Linked DNA regions of Homo sapiens: region 1 is linked to region 2. The links are contacts of gene promoters, found by promoter capture Hi-C in blood cells and fetal thymus (Javierre and others, 2016). All regions are on one chromosome and are shown on one strand. Each heading gives the region's core, a stretch centred on a gene start or on the middle of the fragment in contact. The rest is flanking DNA. Distances are from core to core; before and after follow the strand shown. Region 1 overlaps PHF8 (PHD finger protein 8). Region 2 holds the start of HUWE1 (HECT, UBA and WWE domain containing E3 ubiquitin protein ligase 1).

Region 1 (3,654 bases), core at 197-2,696, 350 kb after region 2:
CAGAAAGTCACTTAACTTCCACGAATTCCAGATTCTCAGCTGCAAAATGGAATAGTTGCCTCGCTTGTTATAACCTTTCCAAAAAGTAACTTGGCATTATATTCCATAATCCCTAGCTGGACTTCAAGAAATCTATCCTACAAAAGTCACTAGAGGCCGGGCATGGTGGCTCACACCTGTAATACCAGCACTTTGGGAGGTCAAGGTGGGTGGATCACGAGGTCAGCAGTTCGAGACCAGCCTGACCAACATAGTGAAACCCTGTCTCTACTAAAATACAAAAATGAGCCGGGTGTGGTGGCGCGCACCTGTAATCCCAACTACTCAGAAGGCTGAGGCAGGAGAATCACTTGAACCCAGGAGGCAGAGGTTGCAGTGAACCAAGATCGTGCCACTGCACTGCAGCTTGGGCAACAGAGTGAGACTCTGTCTCAAAAAAAAAAAAAAAAAAAAGAAGTCACTAGAGATATGAACAGATTTCTATCACCTCTAGGTATCTGTGGATTTAAAATTTGTTGGCTTAACTCTTGCAAGCAACCATAAAAAGTCCACAGTATGTAGTAATTTCCAATTGTGCTGAAGTACAAACTTAAATGGCGCACTATAAGCCTGGTGTGTTTCTGTGAGCAATGCACTGAGTAAGCAAGAGCAGCCACCCCCAAGGACCTGATTCTCAGCTAGCTTCCTTGTTCAGTGGGGGCCCATAGAGAGAAGCAAAAGAGATTTTTAAAATTTGGTGTATTTCATGGAAAAAAATTAAGGCAGTTAACTTGTGTTAGAGTGTACACAGAAACACACAACTCACCACAGAAATGTGATTAAAGAGGGGCCTGGCCCATAAGCCCATTTCTGTATTTGTAAGTTTAGAATTCTTTAAGGCCTCAATGGTGCTCCTTATAAATAAATGTCAAGTATCTACTAGGCAAAGATGCTTTCCATAATGTTTTTGTTTTAATCAGCACTCATATCAAGATGCAAAACCTTTCCAGAACGCCCAAAGTTTCCTCACATTATTTATAATATAAAAAAGTACAAATAATGTTCAAAAAAGTACAATGTCCAACCATAAAGGAAATTACCAAATTAACCGGTGACACATATATATTGTGGGATATCAGAAATCAAGTTTAGCTGAATATTTAATGAACTGGCAATTACATTGTAACATTAACTAGAAATAAAAAATAGGTTGTAAAATGGTATTTATAACGCAATCCCATCTTGTAAAAATATGTTTATATTCTAAGTCAAAAGATGGGAGTTAATGCAACAACAAATTTAACAGTGGATTGTGCCAGACAGTAGTAGACTTAGGTGAGTTATATTTCCTTCTTTATTCTTTTTCTGTGTTTTCTACAACAAGCAGGTCTCACTATAAGAGCAAGAAAAAATTAAGAACATTATTTAAAAGAGAAATATCCAACTTTCAGGCTTGCATATAGACTAAATAATTTGTCCCAAGTCCCTGTCATGGGGTCCGGCAGACATAAGCAGTCAGGAAGCATTCATTCCTGTTCCCTGTTTCCAGAGTGAGGAGTTAGCAGGAGCCCATTTTACAGGTCTGAACCTACACATTTCCCATACAATCCAAAGTAAGGGCCCCAGGCAACAGCTTTTTTTCATGAAGACTCATTAACTCATTCAAAAATGTACTCAGCATCTATTACATGTTTAGCACTGAACTAGGTTCTGGGGATACCAAAAATGAAAAGAAGACATCTCTGCCCTCAGGAAGCTCTGGCTAACGAATGACACAGATATATTTATAACTATGATATGATTAAATAATTACTTTTTAATAAAGACGCACACAAAGTGCAATGGGAACCAAGAGGAAGAAGGACTTTTACACCTTTTACAGTCTGTGAGTTGCAAAGGGGAGAGGGCATTAGTGGGAGTTTGCACGTACAAAGACAAAAAGGCATAAAGGAGTATAAAATTTTCCCAGAACTATAGGTAGTTCAGTCTTGCTAGGACATAAAGAACAAGAGAGGAGGAGTGGCAGGAAATGAGAATAAACAAGTAGATCACAAAAGGTCTTGTCTGTCATATAAAGGATACTGAATTTTATCCCAGAGACGAACCACTGAAAGAAGAATGTTAAGCTGAGGAGTGACTTGATCAGCACTAGCAAAGACACCAGGAATCCTGAAAGACATCTTAATCCCCACTTATTTTCAGGGCAAAGGAAAAGGTCCCACCCTCTAGGGTTGTCCCCTCTTAAATAACATGAGGCAGTAAAACAGAACTCTGTGCCGGGCACACAATAAATATTCAATAGAGATCAGTTAAACATGAATTTGGATACGGGGCAAGGGGGCAGTCCCTGCTGAGGGCAGGATTTTAGCAGCACCAGCACCTATAGTTTGGTCTTGAGTGTGATAAACAGAAATAGCTTGCTGGGCATAGTGGCTCATGCCTGTAATCCTAGCACTGTGGGAGGCTGAGGCGGGCGGATCGCTTGAGGTCAGGAGTTTGAGACCAGCCTGGCCAACATGGTGAAACTCCATCTCTATCAAAAAAGTACAAAAAAATTTGCCGGGCGTGGTGGCGTGCACCTGTAATCCCAGCTACTCGGGAGGCTGAGGCACGAGAATCGCTTGAACCCGGGAGGCAGAGGTTGCAGTGAGCTGAGATCATGCCATTGCACTCCAGCCTGGGTGACAAGAGTGAGACCTTGTCTCAAATAAAAAAAAAAAAAAAAGAAAAAAGAAAAAAAGAAAAAGAAATAGCCCCTCTGGAGGAGACCAGACAACTGAAAATTCTAGAATCTAACAAGCAACAGGAGGAGGGTGCCATACACTGTTTTGTTGTGCTCCAGTGTACAAAGCCCCCTCAAGGTTGTCTTTCCATAGCTGAGATTTAAATCCCATTAATGAAATATTAGTTTTATCGTACACACTAACCTCTCCGGAATTCTGGGTGACAGGTGCTTATGTGCACACACGGTTAACTGAAGGAAATTCATCAGTGGTTTTACTCCTGTTTTACCCAGCATCTATTCTGCTTAATTCAATTTAGTTGGATGGTGCTGCAGATAAATGCTGTAGAAATAAAATACTCTTCCATTTCTGCCTCCATTTATGGAGTACATCCAAACTGCTTTGCAAAGTCAGAAAGGATGTATTTGATAACATTTTATAGCTGAAGACAATGAGGCTCAGAAAAGCAAAGCAACTTGTGCATGGTCACTCTGAAACTAAGTACAAAGCCACAACTTAAATCCCTGTTTATGGACTCAACTACCTCAAATAAGCAACACTGTTTTCCCAAAAGCCAGTGTGTGAGGCAGAACATAATTGTCAGACTATAAAAATGATGACCGGGCACGGTGGCTCACGCCTGTAATCCCAGCACTTTGGGAGGCCGAGGCAGGCAGATCTCCAGAGGTCGGGAGTTCCAGACCAGCCTGATCAACATGGAAAAACACCGTCTCTACTAAAAATACAAAATCAGCTGGGTGTGGTGGTGCATGCCTGTAATCTCAGCTACTTGGAGGCTGGGGCAGGAAAATCGCTTGAACCTGGGAGGCAGAGGTTGCTGTGAGCCGAGATCGCGCCATTGCACTCCAGCCTGGGCAACGAGCGAAACTCCGTCTCGAAAAAAATAAAACAAAATAAAAAATAAAATAGAGAAGAATATAAAAATGATTCT
Region 2 (3,475 bases), core at 874-3,373:
AATTAGCCAAACTCCATTCTGGAAGCGGAGCAAAGAGTCCCCCATTGTTACCTGTCTCCAGGAATAACATATTATCCTGGACTAACATTTAAAAGACGTTCAATCTCACAGTAAGCACACAAATGCAAATGAAAACAATGACATAACATTTTTTGCCCATTAGATAGGGAAAAAAATTTTTAAACCTACATTATCCAGACTCCTTCCCTCGCCGCACTGCAGGCTAACCTGAATCCATCTTAATCTAACTAAAGGCCATATCATTAGTTCTAGTTCCAAAGCCACCAATTTTAACTACTGAAGCTTTACCTTGGCATAACCAAAAAGATCCAATAAAGTGGTTTTCTCCAAACAAAGGAGTCTGCCCTCAAAGGAATATTCAAGCTTCGGGGATGGGGGGAAATGCCTGAAGCTTTTAATATGGCAGTTTTTCCACGTCTAGCCAACAGTGTTTCTCCAATAAATCTTGGGATCCAATCTGGCTTGATTTGTGGGCTTTTCCATTCTAATGCATTGTTCTGTCCGTTCTAATTTAAATAGTTCCTTTAGAGTACATTTTAATAGCCAGTAGTACAAATATCCCTATCTTTACTTACGTTTTAAAATATTTTTTTTCAGTTATTCTTAGCCATTTTTTTCCCCCGGATGAACTTTAGAATCATAGTAAGTTCCAAAAAAACTTGGTATATTTATTGAAATTGCATCAACTGTATAAACCAATATAGGAAAAATGGACATCACTAAAATATTGAGCCTTCTTATTCAGAAGCATAGTATTCCTTCTCTTTTCATGCAGATGTTCTTTTATGGTATTCGTCAATAAAGTTTTATAGTTTACTTCTAGGTATTTTTATTCGTTTCTCTTGCTATTGCGAACAGGTTTTTTATTATTAAAATTTCAAAATGCTTATTGCTTATAGATAGGAAAACTGCCTATATAAACTATTGATATTTGCCTATTTACAAACAAAAATATGATCAATTTCGCCAGTAATCAGGGAAATGCAAATGAAAACAATGACATACGATTTTTTTGCCCTTTAAATTGGCTAAAATTACAAAGATTGATAATACGTGTTGGCATAACTGTGGAAAAATAGGCACTCTCGCACAACATTAAAGAGTGTAAATTAGTACAGGCTTTTGGGAAGGCAATTTGGACAAATCTATCAAAATTCAAAATGCATATACACCCTGACCCAGCGGTTACTCTTCTAAGAATTTCTCCTACAGAAATACTCATACATGGCATGATACATATACACAAACCCATTCATTATGGCATTGCTTGTAATAGTCCCCTCCCTCCCCCAACAGAGAAACAAGCTAATGTATATCAATCGGGAAATGGTTAAATAAACTGTAGTACAATCATACAATGCAGCTGTTTAAAACCCAACATAAATTTGGATTCCCGGATATAAGAAGATCTACAAGACATATTCTCAGATTTTTAAACAAGCAGTTAGTCGAAATGAATGTGTGTGTGTGTGTAGTACCATTTAGATATCAAAACATATATATGCAACGCCTAGTAGTTACCCGCGAAGCCTGCCTGCCCGCCCCTCACCTTCCCTCTCCTCTGAGGCCGCCTTCCTCGAACCAGTGAGAAACGCTGAAGGCCCGGCCTCTACTCTCTCTTTAGGGCCACTTGGCCATGGCTAATGCCGGTACCTCGCATCCCCTCTGTCAGCCGCTCTCTCGCCGCGCCGCCGGCAGCTGCCGGGCTGCCCCCGAAGATGCGGCTAGCTCTCCGCTGGCGCCTGCCGAGGCCTGGGGGAGGGGAGAGGAGGCGGGGTTCAGGGAGGGTTGGGGCAGGCCGCCCTGCCCCTCCAGCAGCCTTTCCCGCAGGCTCCCCAAGGCCGCCACCTCCGCGCCTCCGCGCAGGGTCCCGTGGGAACTCCCCCCCCAACCTCGCCACTGCCACCCGCGAGAAACCGAGAACGGCCGCGCGTACAGAGCTCGCCCTCCAGCCCAGGGATAGACGCTCACCTCGGCCGCAATGGCTCCGCGGGGCCCGCAGGAGCGTGCGGGGTCCGCGGCCCTGCTTCAGCCCTGCTTCAGCCCTGCTCCAGCCCTGCTCCAGCCCTGCTCCAGCCCTGCTCCCCTCGCTAGCCCTCAGTCGAAAGCCTCCTCGCTTCGGCTCAGCTCAAACTCGATTTGGGGCTCCACCCACCGCAAGCGAAGCCCCGCCCCTGCCCCTCGGGAGGGAGCTCCCTCCGCGGTGAAGTCGGGTCCCTTGCAGGGGACCGCGCCTGAGCTACCCAAGGCCCAGTAAATGCAACCATAGAGGATGATAGGGTCGCTAAGAATTGGGATTTGATTCGAGGCACGGTGGAAGCCGCGGAAGGGAACATGATTTGATCTGATTTACCTTTAAAAATTAACGACCTCGCCAGATGCCTTGTGAAGAATGGGGAGTGTGGGGCAAGAGGGCAAGGCTGGACCCAGAGCGGAGGGTGGGAGACGACGTGGGAAGCCGACCACCCAGAGTTCACGCGAGCAAACCCTTAAAACACTTCAGGCACATAGTAAGCCCTCAATAAACATTCTTTTTTCCTCCTTTAATTATTTGGAACGGCAGTGCGATTGACAAGGATCCTGTAGAGGATCTGCATCTGTAAATACATGGGAATAAAAAGGACCTGGTGGGAGATCACCTGTTAACCCTACTTAATTATTGTGGGCTGCGGACGACATTGGAGGGGCGAAGAACTTTGACTTGGAACTCTAGCTACTTCGATAAGGTTTCAATTTTTAATAAAAAGTATGTATTAATTTAGTATTTAAAGACAAAAGCACTATTAAAAGAACTCCTGAGACATCGAGGAAATAAAAACTGTGATTATACCCTCCACTTCTCTAATTCCAGCCCTCCAGAGCAGTGGTTCATCCCTCGAATTGAGAATCTAATGAATGGGTCCCCCACCCCAATATATACTTACACATAAAATTTTGTATATGATCTCAGGAGATGTACAGGGCCCCTTCGAGATACACTGTTTCATTGAATATTTTTACAATTTTTTTTTTTTGAGACAAAGCATCACTCTGTCACCCAGGGTGAAGTGCAGTGGCACGGTCACGACTCACTGCAGCCTCGACCTCCTGGGCTCAAGGATCCTCCTGCCTGCCTACAGTCTCCCAAGTAGCTGGGCCTCCAGGTATGCGCCACCACGCCTGGATAACTTTTTATTTTTTGTAGAGGCGGGGTCTCACTATGTTGCCAGGCTGGTCTCAAACTCTTAGGCTCAAGCAGTTCACCCGCCTCGGCCTCCCAAAGCGCTGGGATTACAGGCGAAAGACCCGGCCCATCTGTAACATTTAGTGGCAACATGAAGCTATACTTTCTTTAGCATGTAATTAACTTCGGTTGTTCTTTTTTCATTTTAAAATTGGTTTCCTAATTACACATGATTATTGTAAAACACGGATAAATTTAAAGTTCCCCTTACATTCATATACACAAATAGAA

What was found. The method cuts DNA at HindIII sites, captures the fragments that hold promoters and counts their contacts. A CHiCAGO score of 5 or more calls a contact.
Region 1: a fragment that was not itself captured here is called in contact with the fragment with the promoter of HUWE1 in region 2 in 1 of 17 cell types (fetal thymus); the score reaches 5.7 in fetal thymus.

The regions. Positions count from the first base shown.
Region 1 is chrX:54,038,701-54,042,354 of GRCh38, forward strand. The region is part of intron 2 of PHF8 (PHD finger protein 8); the gene reads right to left. Among named protein-coding and RNA genes, the nearest start is that of PHF8, 3.9 kb to the right of the region's middle. The HindIII fragment of the contact is 5,961 bases long and covers 1-3,654 here.
Region 2 is chrX:53,684,596-53,688,070 of GRCh38, forward strand. HUWE1 (HECT, UBA and WWE domain containing E3 ubiquitin protein ligase 1) reads right to left here and starts at 2,124. Exons shown (of 84, transcript NM_031407.7): 1 at 1,993-2,124; 2 at 1,675-1,773. RefSeq lists an enhancer at 1,468-1,547 and silencers at 1,758-2,057, 2,131-2,305. The HindIII fragment of the contact is 15,452 bases long and covers 411-3,475 here.